Regions from separate parts of the Homo sapiens genome. Here region 1 is linked to region 2. The links are contacts of gene promoters, found by promoter capture Hi-C in blood cells and fetal thymus (Javierre and others, 2016). All regions are on one chromosome and are shown on one strand. Each heading gives the region's core, a stretch centred on a gene start or on the middle of the fragment in contact. The rest is flanking DNA. Distances are from core to core; before and after follow the strand shown.

Region 1 (6,244 bases), core at 2,955-5,454, 100 kb after region 2:
GATTGGGTCCTTTCCTTCAAGGCAGTGGGCTCCCTTTTGGCTCACGGTGTGTCTAGAGATGTCATCTGGGAGCTAGGGCCTAGAATAAGGGCCTCATGACTCTGCCCAGTTCCCTGTCCTGCTGTGGCTGAGCTGGTATCCAAGATGCAAGACAAAATCCTCTTTACTCTTCTCTCTTCTCTCCTTAAGCAGAAGGAGGGAGTCACTTTCGTTGCCTCTAGCTGCGTTGCCTGAGGTTGGGGGAGGGGTGGTGAAAGCATTCCCTTAGCCATGCCAGCTGGTGTCTCCCTTGGTTACACGCCACTCTAGTCCACTGGCTTTAAGCCCAGCCTAACTAGGAGTTGCCTTTTAAGTTTACCTAGGACTCCAGAGCACATCAGCCCACCGTGGGGAGGCTTGCTGAAAAACTGAAGTTCCGACTGCTGGGATGGGTGATACCTGTCTGGCTAGGGCTGGTCCAAGTACTGCCTCTCTGTGTGGGCACTGGCTGAGCCCAGCATGCCTTTATTCTTTGCTGTGATGGGGCAGCACTGAATTCAATGTAAGGTCCTCCAGTGGCCGCACTCACCCTTCCCAAAGTGCAGATTCTCTCTCCATGTTGCAGGGCTGCTGCGGGTTGGTGGGGGATGGGTGAGGGGTGGTGTGGCCTCTCTCCGGCCCTCTTCAGTGCCTTTTTTCTTTCTTTTTGTAAGACAGAGCCTTGCTCTGTCGCCCAGGCTGGAGTGTAGTGGTGCAATCTCAGCTTACTGCAGCCTCTGCCTCCTGGGTTCAAGTGATTCTGATGCCTCAGCCTCTCGAGTAGCTGGGATTATGAAAGTGCGCCACCACACCTGGCTAATTTTTGTATTTTTTTTTTTTTTTTTTTTTTGAGGCGGAGTCTCACTCTGTTGCCCAGGCTGGAGTGCAGTGGTGCAATCTCGGCTCACTACAACCTCCGCCTCCTGGGTTCAAGCGATTCTTCTGCCTCAGCCTCCCGAGTAGCTGGGACTACAGCCACGTGCCACCATGCCCGGCTAATTTTTGTATTTTTAATAGAGATGGGGTTTCACCATGTTGCCCAGGGTGGTCTCAAATTCCTGACCTTGTGATCCACCCGCCTCAGCCTTCCAAAGTGCTGGGATTACAGGTGTGAGCCACTGCGCCCGGCCTAATTTTTGTATTTTTAGTAGAGATGGGGTCTATGTAGCCCAGGCTGGTCTCATGCTCCTGACCTCAAGTGATCCACCTGCCTTGGCCTCCCACAGTGCTGGGATTACAGGCATGAGCCACTGCACCTGGCCCAATGCCTCTTTCAGCGATATGAAGTTAAAACCAGGTACTGTGATTGCTCCCCTGGTTTTGGTTCTTGTGACAGTGCTTTTCTCTGTGCAGATTAAAATGTAGTGTTCCAGTGGTGTGGGGGTGAGGGGACAAATGGTGTAGGCGTCTATTCTACTGTCTGGCTGTTTGGGGTGATGAAAATTTTCTGGAAAAATTAGTGATGATGGTGGTTTAACATTGTGAATATAGTTAATTCCACTTGTGTATTTAGAGACAGGGTCTCACCATGTTGCCCAGACTAGACTCCAACTCCTGGCCTCAAGCAATCCTCCCTCCTCAGCCTCCTGAGTAGCTGGGGCTACAGGAGCCCTCCATCAGGGCTCTGTAGTAAATTCCATTTAATTGTACAGTTTAAAATGGTTAAAAGATACATTTTTTGATATGTATATTTTATTACAGTTTTAAATAAGTATTTGGTGAAAAAAACCCCACCATATAAAATACCCACCCTGGGCAAATAGTCCTCAAACTCATGTGCGGACCCCTCATGACATTCTGTGCAGAGATCCAATGATTTAGACATGAGACTGACCAGACAACTGCAGATGCATGAAATAAATGTACTTTCAAAGAGACAGTTCCGCTGGGACCTGTGGGCCCCGCAGAGGGGAGGTCAGCAGCCCCCTGGAAAGGCCCTAGGCTGGGGCCCTCTGGTGGACAGTGAGGAAATTGTAGACGAAAAGGTCATGCCAAACTGGTTTGTTTAAAAAAAATCATCGTTTGTTTTTAATGTGTCTAGACAAAATTTCAACACTGTCATGTTCCATATATTTTCTTTCGCAGTGTTCTTTGATTCTAGCTCTTCTCTGGTGTGTGTGTGTGTGTTTTTTTTTTTTTTGAGACGGAGTCTCGCTGTCGCCCAGGTTGCAGTGTAGTGGCGCGATCTCGGCTCACTGCAGGCTCCGCCCCCCGGGGTTCACGCCATTCTCCTGCCTCAGCCTCCCGAGTAGTAGCTGGGACTACAGGCGCCCGCCACCTCACCCGGCTAATTTTTTGTATTTTTAGTAGAGACGGGGTTTCACCGTGTTAGCCAGCATGGTCTCGATCTCCTGACCTCGTGATCCGCCCGCCTCGGCCACCCAAAGTGCTGGGATTACAGGCGTGAGCCACCGCGCCCAGCCTCTCTGGTGTTTTAAAACAAGCTTACACTAAACTCAGATGTTCAAAGTCTGATGCCCTGCCACTTTCTTACTTCAGTGCATGTTTCTTTTTCGAGACGGAGTCTCGCTCTGTCGCCCAGGCTGGAGTGCAGTGGTTCTATCTCGGCTCCTGCAACCTCCGCCTCCTGGGTTCCAGCGATTTTCCTGCCTCAGCCTCCTGAGTAGCTGGGATTACAGGTGGGTGCCACCACACCCAGCTAATTTTTGTATTTTTAGTAGAGATGGGGTTTCACCATGTTAGCCAGGGTGGTCTCGAACTCAGGTGATCCACCTGTCTCCACCTCCCAAAGTTCTGGGATTATAGGCGTGAGCCACTGCGCCCGGCCTCAGTGCACGTTTCTTATAATTCCTTTTAAAATCTGACCATTGTCATGGGCATGCATCAAGTCTGTGAATGCAGACCTCTGGGATATGCCCAGTGGGAATACTGGGGACTCAGGGAATAGTTATCACCCAAGGTAGGATGGCATGAGGCAGTATCAAGGGACACCTGCAGGGGGGTGGGGGTTGTGTCCCACAGATGGTGGGAGCCACAGATGGTTTCATCAGGACAGAGGCACAATAACCGCATCTTGATGGTCTCAGGGCTTAGACTCACCTGTTGCGTCCAGAACCAGGCATTGACCAGGGTTCAAATTAGTGCTCCACCTGCAGAGCCCTGGGCAGAGATGGACAACAGCCTCCCCCTGCAGGACAGTCAGTGCAGGGCTGGGTCACCTCAGCACTCCACAGGCCTTTGCCTGCAGTGTTCTCCTGGCCAGGGAGGAGGCCAGGCCCATCCCTGTCACATCATCTAAGGGGCTGTCTGCCCTGAGGGTCTGCAGAAGAGTTGAACAGAGTAAGGGGCATAGGAAGCAGTAGAGCCGTGTCTCTTCTTGAGCTGTGTTAACTTTTGTCTTCTTAGTCCCTGAGGTCACTCCCAAATGTGGGCATCTAGACCTGAGGCAGGAGGGTAGGACGGGGCCAGCTTCTTGGCATGTGACCTGTGTTATCACATGGGGGCCTGTGCTTAGAAGGGTCCTGCACTTAATATAGTGCCCTTCTGTGGCTGTGTTGAAACCCTCTTAATCCTGTCTTGAAGAAGGATACTGCATTTTCAGGTTGCACTGAATCCCCCACATTATGTGGCTCTTCCTGGGTCAGGAGCAGGGAGAGGGAGAGGCCATGAGATGAGGGGGAGGCTCAGGGCTGGATGGGACCCATGTCCCCTAGGGCTCTGTGCTGCCCTTGTCTTAGGACCTGCAGGGCGGTTTGGTCTCATCTGTTCACTCCCAGTGTCCACTGAATGGTGCTTGTATAGCAGGGACTGTCCCACTATCCAGGACAAGCCTATAGTGTGTGTGCTCACTCAGTATGTGTGTCAGGCTGGACAGAACCTCACTTTATCCCTGTCTGCTGTGGGATCTGCAGCAAGGATCCCCTCCTGGGAGTCTCGGTGTCTCTGTACCTGAGTGGTGGGATGAGGAGACCTCAAAGGGCCATCTCAGAGGGGACTCAACAGTGTTGGGGCTGGAGGAGGCCTGGGCTCTGGGGCCCGAGGATGTCACACACCTCTTGAGTCTTTTGAAATGGTTTCATCTGTTATTTTGAAAATCATATAGGTGGCTGGGCATAGTGGCTCACGCCTGTAATCCCAGCACTTTGGGAGGCCGAGGCGGGTGGATCATGAGGTCAGGAGATTGAGACCATCCTGGTTAACATGGTGAAACCCCATCTCTATTAAAATTACAAAAAATTAGCCAGGTATGGTGGCAGGCGCCTGTAGTCCCAGCTACTCAGGAGGCTGAGGCAGGAGAATGGCGTGAACTCCGGAGGTGGAGCTTGCAGTGAGCTGAGATCACACCACTGCACTCCAGCCTGGGCAACAGAGGGAGACTCCATCTCAAAAAAAAACAAAAAACAAACAAAAAAAAAACGGTCACATAAGAAAGCACACTTATTGTAAATTCCAGCAATATAAGCGCTTGTAAAATGATGTGTCAGATCCCTGACCCCACCCCACTCCAATTCCATTTCCAGGATGTAACCACTGTTTGCAGTTGGTATGAATCTTTCAATAATACTTTCTCATTTGTCCCACTCATTGTTTATACAGCCAAACATTAATGAATTATATTATTAATTGGTAATGTTGTTTTATAGTGAAGCATGTATGGTGGACACTTCCTTTCTCAACACATGTGGATTTGCTCCAATTGTGTTTCTTTTTCTGTTTTAGAGGTTTTATTTTAGGTTCAGGGGTACATGTACAGGTTTATTATATACATAAACTGCATGTCACAGGGGTTTGGTGTACAGATGATTTTGTTACCCAGGTATTAAGCCTAGTACCCAACAGGTGTTTTGTCTGATCCTCTCCCTCCTCCCACCCTCCACCCTCAAGTAGGCCCCAGTGTTTGTTCTTCTCTTTGTGTCCATGGGTTCCAATCATTTAGGTCCCACTTAAAAGTGAGAACATGCGGCTGGGCATGGTGGCTTACGCCTGTAATCCCAGCACTTTGGGAGGCTGGGGGGGGGGCGGGGGGTGGATCACGAGGTCAGGAGTTCGAGACCAGCCTGCCCAGTATGGTGAAACCCCGTCTCTACTAAAAATGCAAAAATGAGAACATGTGATATTTGGTTTTCTGTTCCTCTGTTAGTTTGCTAAGGATAATGGCCTCCAGCTCCATCCATGTTTCTGCAAAGGAAATGACCTCATTCTTTTTTGTAGCTGTGTAGTATTCCATGGTGTGTACGTACCACATTTTCTTTATCCAGTCTACCATTGATGGACATTTATGTTGATTCCATGTCTTTGCTATTGTGAATGGTGCTGCAATGAACATTCGTGTGCATGTGTCCTTATGGTAGAATGATTTATATTCCTCTGGGTGTATACCCAGTAATGGGGTTGCAGGGTCAAATGGTACTTTTGTTTTTAGCTCTTTGAGGAATTGCCATACTGCTTTTCACAATCGCTAAACTAATTTACATTCTCACCAACAGTGTATAAACGTTCCATTTTCTCTCTCTCTTTTTTCTTTTTTAGACAGTCTTGCTTTGTTGCCCAGGCTGGAGTGTAGTGGCACAGCCTCAGCTCTCTGCAAACTCCACCTCCTGGGTTCAAGTGATTCTTGTGCCTCAGCCTCCTAAGTAGCTGGGACTACAGGCGTGCACCACCACGCCTGGCTAATTTTTGTATTCTTAGTAGAGTCGAGGTTTCATCCTGTTGGGCAGGCTGCTCTTGAACTCCTGGCCTCAAGTGGTCCTCCCTCCTTGGCTTCCCAAATTGCTGGGATTACAGGTGTAAGCCACCGTGCCCAGCACATTCCTTTTTCTCTGCAACTTCAGCAGCATCTGTTATTTTTTGACTTTTTAATAATAGCCACTCTGGTGTGAAACGGTATCTTACTGTGGTTTTGATTTGCATTTCTCTAATAATTAGTGATGTTGAGCATTTTTTCATATGCATGTTGGTCCATATGTTCAAGCTTTTGAAAAGCATCTGTTGATGTTCTTTGCCTTTTCATTGCTTTCCCCTTATTTATTTTATTGCATGGCTACACTGTGATGCTTTATCCACTCGCCTATTGGATTTGACGCTGTGTCCCACTCTTCATGTTGACAAGACATTCTGCAGTGACTATCCTCATACACATATCTTTTCCCCACGTGGAGTATTAATCCAGGAACTCATTCATTCAGCTCTTATAAAGTACCCTGGCCAGGCTGTGGGCAGGTCAAGGGCTTTAACAGAGACAGGGCAGGCACAGTCCTGCCTTCTC
Region 2 (6,390 bases), core at 957-3,456:
GATCTAGGTCCCCCTGACTTCCAAGCTGAGTGTAAAGGTCTAGGTGAGTCTAAAAGTGTGGCCATGCAGAGAAGTATTGGTGTAGAGCAGTGGTTGTTGACCAAGGGTGGTTCCCCCTCCGGGGTCATTTGGCGATGTCTAGAGATATTTTTGGCTGCCATAACAGGGGTTTGGATGAGGGAGAGGGGAGGCTGCTATTGGCATGTAGGGGAGAGAGGCCACGCGGATGCTGCTGAACATCTCACAATACACAGAACAGCCCCCACCGCAAGGAACTGTTCAGCCCAAATGTCAGTAGAGCTGCTATGAAGCCCTGGTTTGATTTAGCAACCTGAGGATGCATTCTTGCAGTTAGCTAATGTTTGCTGAGTACTGAGCTGGATAGCGTGAGGGATATGGAAACAGTGCACCAGTCTGTGTCACCAAGTAGTTTGCAGCCTAGAAGGACAGGGGGTGGGGGCAGGAAAGGCACATGAAGGCCCTCAATATAAGGCAGCAGATGATAAGTGCAAGAAGAGAGTGTCCAGCAGGGCTAAGCCAGCGCTCAGGAGGGAGACCACATGTCTGGCTGTGGGAGGAACTGAAGGAAGCTGTGGGAAGGTGGTTTTGAGCTGGGTGTGTGAGCAAAGTTGAACTGGTGGAAAAACACAATACCTGTTCAGGGAAGGGCAAACAGGTTAGTTTGGTTGGAGAAATAGTATTTTTAGTGAGTAGAGGGAGGTACACTAGAAAGGCAGGTTGGGGCTACAGCTTTGAATCCAGGCAGAGGACTCTAGCCTGGGTGTCTGTCATAGTGATGGAAAAGTCTTCCCTTTCAGAACAGTGGTCTAGGCCCTAGGGCTATGGGGCTTAACAGCTTCCAGAGCACTCTCTCTACAAAGGAGGGGATGTTGGAAATTGGGGTGGAGAAGGGAGAATGCCTCCTGATTTTAGGACCAAGTTGATGCTGAGTATGTAACATAGCCATTTCACCTCAAAGTGGCCTTTGGGGAGATGGTGCTCACAAGCGGAAATATACATGGGGATCAGGTCTTTTCTGCGTGGTTGCTCTGTGCAGGGCTGGGCCACTTTATAGTGAAAGCTGGAGCAGATTTGGAACCCCTAAGCTAAAGTCGGCTTCCCAAAATGTGAGCTGTTACAGCAGGGCTTGCTATGGATAAAGCTTCAAATATGGACACTACCTGGTGACAGGCTTTTTCTAGTTTATTACGTTACCAGTAAATAGCATTAAGACATGTTGGTGGCATTCCAGTGCACTGTAAAGAATAGAAGCAAGGACTTCCTGATCTTCTATAAAGGTACCATTGCCTTCAACACTCTCCCACCATCATCATTAAGTTTAGCCATGAGAATTATGTTACTCTTTTGGAAAAGTGTTGGGGGAGAAGGCATGGGAGCAAATCTTTGTTGAGCTAGTATATACATACATACGTACGTGTGTGTGAGGGGGATCAGCTACAATTGCAGATATCTTCTTTTCTTTTCTTTCCTTTTTTTTTTTTTTTTTTTTTTGAGATGGAGTCTCACTCTGTCACCCAGGCTGGAGTACAGTGGTGCCGTCTCGGCTCACTGCAGCCTCCACCTCCTGGGTTCCAGCAATTCTCTGGCCTCAGCCTCCTGAGTAGCTGGGACTACAGGTGCGTGCCACCAGGTCTGGCTAATTTTTTGTATTTTTAGTAGAGATGGAGTTTCACCGTGTTAGCCAGGATGGTCTCGATCTCCTGACCTTGTAATCCGCCCTGCCTTGGCCTCCCAAAGTGCTGGGATTACAGGAGTGAGCCACCGCGCCCGGCCAGTTGCAGATATTTTCACATACAATATCTCGTTTAACTCTCTCAACATTGTTTGGGTGTAAGTACAGTTTGCTGTTTTTTTGTAAAGGAGGAAACTGGCATTGAGAAAGGCTCACTTGCCCCATCCCCCATAGCTAAGAGAAGCTGCATTTTGATGTGTCTGTGGCCTGTTTTGCCACATTTCTCCCCCCGTTTTCCCCTTCATAGACAGTCTTGTTTACCTGGATTCAGGCTGCTAGAGACCATGGACATCAGCATTAGTGGCAGCAACAGGAGGAGGGAAGAGATTAGAACTTTCATCGCAACTGTCGGTGCAGCTGTAAGTTGCTTGAAGAATATAATGGAAGGTTCCCTGCTGGAGGCTCCTGATCCCTGGGGATGACTCAGGTCAGGATACTCAGCCTGGTGGTCTATGCTTTAGTCCCAGGCCAGCGTTCCCATTTGAGGGCGAGAACAGGTGAGGTGACGCTGTCTTGCTGTTACGTAACAGATTAGACCATGTGCTTTATGGGAATCTGGGAGGTGAAACTGGTCAAACAAAAGAAATTCAGCATTCTTAAGAACATAAGAAGGTGACTGATAACTTGGCAGCTGTGCCAGTTCTCTCCTGTACTCTTTCCCGCCTCCTCACACCCCAATGCCTCATGATTTCTTCCTCAAATCTTTTTTTCTTGCTTGGATTTCCTTATACCTTTCAATGACCCTCTCTATCTGAATATTTGGCAGGAAAGTGGATACTAAGTGTTGGTAGAAGAGACTTTGACAAGGTCTGTTTCCCCTCTGTGCTCCTGCTCCCATCCTTGGCAAAATATCGGCAATAGTAGTGTTGTTGCCTGGGAAGTTGCCCTGTCCTCTCTCTGTTCACAATTCCCTCCAATTCTGCAGCCACATAAGATGGCAGCAGAGCAGGATCCGGGACAAGAGGCAGCTCCCCTGCCGAGAACACCGCCCCTGGAGCAGTGGGTGACACCAGGCCTCCTTGTGTGTCCATCGGGAAGGTGGCCATGGCTTAGTTGTTCTGGTCTAAAGGGGAGGGAACTGGGTTGGGGGAAGAGACCCCCAGAGCTTTAGGTCTCAGAGGGTTTGAGAAACAGGAGCCACAGGAGGGAAGGAGCCCTGAAGTGTGTTTGCCCAGCTGCTGGGGCGCCTGGCTCCAGCCCTTGTTTGGAAATGGCCCCGGGCAAAAGAAGAAAGGTAATAATACTTGAAGTAAACATTAGGGGCATAGAATATCAGCACTCACTAAACTTGACATTTATTTGAGACTTTAGGAAATGTGCTCAAAGGGAGAGGAGAGGCTGGGCTTGAATGCTGGGTGATATTCATGGGGGCTGAAGGGAAGGCTAACAAGGGAGCCCTTTTTTTGGAAGCCTCCAGGCAGGAGTGAGAGCAGGGGGTGTGACTTTATTTCCCTGAGAGAAGGAAAGAGGAAAGGCATGAGTCAAAGCCCTTTGGTTTTGTTTGACCATTCTTTTTTCTCCACGTTTTCAAATTATCTCGGCCTGTTGACTTGTCACAGAGTTGATTGTGGACTTTGCTACTGCAGTGTTTATAAAGCACTGCAGGGGCCAGGGACTGCTATGACTGAGCCTGTGTCCAAGTTGAAGGCTCAGGGTGGGCCTAAGCTTGTTCTGATGCAAATCACTGATGTGGCTTCTTTCTGGAAAATTCTAAAACCAGGGAGATGACATCCATTTCATAAAGCCTAGAGATATGGGTGCAGTCATCTCTCAAAGTGGCAGGAGTGCAGGGGGACTGAGAGGGACTTGGTTGGGTGGAACTTGAGCTGGAGTTGGGGGAGGATTTGGGTTGGTGGAGGGCAGAGAGGAGGGCCGTGCAGAGCAGGGGCGTGTTGTAGGAGAGGTGCCTCCTGGAGCTCATTGGATGGGGATTTTAGAGGACAGGAGCTGTTCGTGTTCATTTTTGTATTGCTTGAACTTACACAGGGTCTGGCACTTTGGGAGTATTCTATAAATGACTGTTGAATGGAATGATTGTTTTGTAGCCCATTAACTGGGCCTGATGTATTAGAAAGTGTGCGAAAATGTAGCCCATTAGCAGAAAGAAAATCTTACTGAAAAACCATCCCATGTACAAATGGAGCCTGGTGCGGCCACTTTACTTATGCTGCTGAGTTCTGCATCAGTCCACACCCAGGCCACCGCAGGGGCCGGGAGCTCCTCCTCAGACCTACCTCCCGTGCCTCAGTCTCTTTACCCCTCTGTTCTTCCAGGTCCTGCTCCCTCTGGTTTCCCCTCCATGCACTTGGGGTGGGTGTTGCATCCTGTGTCCCATTGGAGGGGGCTTCCGGTCTGTTAGGTCTATTAATATAAAACACCCCCAAGACAAATGGACTTTTTTCTTGTTAACATCACAACTTCTTATGATGCATCTCAAGAACATTATTTGTGTCAAGAGTCTCTCTGATGTACAGAGGCCCTCCATTCCTCAGGAGGAGGTAAGGGGAATTTGGGAGAAAACACCGCCCTGCCTGGGTTACTTATTTCCCTATTCTACAGTGTACTTGGTAGACATTCAAAAATATTTGTTGACTTTGTCCATGATCCACATGGCTCTCATATAGTCATTTATTCACACATACATTCAGTGAGACTTTGAGCGCCTAGTGTGTGCCTGGTATTTACTAGATGGTGGATGCTGAGATCAGGTGTGCTGCTGTCTCTGAGGAGCTCTCACTATACAGTGGCACCTAGGGTGACCGAATCCACCTGCCCCACTTTACAGACATGGAAATTAAAGTGCAGGGAAGTTATAGGATTAGTTCAACAACACAGTCAGTAGCCTCAAAGTTACAGGAGTAAATCAAGTTTTCTGACTTGCTGGATTTTCTATTAGTGTGCAGCTACCTGGCTGCTGCAGGTGTAGACGTGGTGAGCTCCGATAGGAGAGAGGACGTTCAGAGTGAAATGGGAGCCCTGAGCACCCTGGATTAACCGGGAGGACATACCGGGTCCAGCTGTGACCGCACAAAGGACCATCAGGGATATTTGTATTCTCTTTTTCACTTTGAGCTTGAAATGAAGAAAACTGACCCCAGGAAACCAAGAGTGGAAGATTTTTCACAGGGGATTAGTGAGATGCGTCAAAAAGCCTGTGTTGGATGGGTGCCTGTAATCCCAGCACTTTGGGAAGCTGAGGTGGGAGGATGGCTTGGGTCCAGGAGTTTGAGACCAGTGTGGGCAACATGGTGAGACCCTGTCTCTATAAAAAGCTTTTTTGTTTCTTGTTTTAAAAAGAAAACCCTTTTCTGATGTCTGTCACGGTGTTTCTCACTGAATGGTAATGGTCTGACTTTGAGTGGGTTTCATCCATAGCCTGGAGCTCTGTGAGGCAGGGACCAGGTGTGATTCACCTTTGTCTCTCCAGTGACAGTACACAGCAGGATCCGATAAATATTTCTTACAAAATAAAACTGAATAAAAAGTAGACATCTGCACAGGTGTGGGATGACTAAGCAGCAGCAGGAGCAGGAAAAATCAGTCCCCCCAGATCAGCTGATACAGCGTTCAGCTTCTAGATAGGGGTGAGGTGCCAGGACGGGGATGGGGTTCCTGTGGCTCTGCTGCTCTGGGGAACACCCCTAGGATTCAGAGTGTAGGCTGTGGTTGCTGCACTTCACTTGCCCGTGGGAAAGTGAGCAGTGGGTGTGGGGCTTCAGGTGACCCTACGTGGGAAACGGCCGAGGGAAGATGGGGTAGGTGGCACATAGAGGTTGTTTTTTTATTTTTTTATTTTTATTTTTGAGACGAAGTTTTGTTCTTATTGCCCAGGCTGGAGTGCAATGGTACAATCTTGGCTCACCGCAACCTCTGCTTCCCAGGTTCAAGCAATTCTCCTTGCCTCAGCCTCCCAAGTAGCTATGATTACAGGCATGCGCCACCATGCCTGGCTATTTTTTTTTGTATTTTTAGTAGAGACAGGATTTCTCCATGTTGGTCAGGCTGATCTCGATCTCCTGACCTCAGGTGATCCACCCACCTTGGCCTCCCAAAGTGCTGGGATTACAGGCATGAGCCACTGTGCCCGGCCAAGGATGTTTACCAATATTTGAAGGTCGGTTGTATAAAAAAGTGTTAGACTTGGCTGGGTGCATTGGCTCATGCCTGTAATCTCAACACTTTGGGAGGCTGAGGCAGGCAGATCACCTGAGGTCGGGAGTTTGAGACCAACCTGGCCAACATGGCAAAACCCTGTCTCTACTAAAAATACAAAAATTAGCCGGGCGCAGTGGCGGGCACCTGTAATCGCAGCTATTCAGGAGGCTGAGGCAGGAAAATTGCTTGAACCCAGGAGGGGGAGGTTGCAGTGAGCCAAGATTGTGCCACTGCACTCCATCCTGGGTGACAGAGCCAGACTCCATCTCAAAAAAAAAAAAAAAAAAAAGGAAAAGAAAAAATGTTAGTGTCACATGCATCCATGTGAAGAGACCACCAAACAGGCTTTGTGTGAGCAATAAAGCTTTTAATCACCTGGTGCAGGCAGGCTGAGTCCAAAAAGAGAGTCAGTGAAGGGAGTTAGGGATGGGGCAGTTTTATAGGACTAGGGTAAGCAGTGGAAAGTTACAGTTAAAGGGGGT

What was found. The method cuts DNA at HindIII sites, captures the fragments that hold promoters and counts their contacts. A CHiCAGO score of 5 or more calls a contact.
Region 1: a fragment that was not itself captured here is called in contact with the fragment with the promoter of CXCL17 in region 2 in 2 of 17 cell types (neutrophils and M1 macrophages); the score reaches 6.0 in neutrophils.

Annotation. Positions count from the first base shown.
Region 1 is chr19:42,539,873-42,546,116 of GRCh38, forward strand. The region is part of intron 2 of LIPE-AS1 (LIPE antisense RNA 1); the gene reads left to right. Among named protein-coding and RNA genes, the nearest start is that of CEACAM1, 15 kb to the left of the region's middle. The HindIII fragment of the contact is 3,488 bases long and covers 2,461-5,948 here.
Region 2 is chr19:42,440,740-42,447,129 of GRCh38, forward strand. It overlaps CXCL17 (C-X-C motif chemokine ligand 17), which reads right to left and starts at 2,207. Exons shown (of 4, transcript NM_198477.3): 1 at 2,015-2,207. The coding sequence starts at 2,093. All of the region lies in intron 1 of LIPE-AS1 (LIPE antisense RNA 1), which reads left to right. The HindIII fragment of the contact is 2,256 bases long and covers 1,161-3,416 here.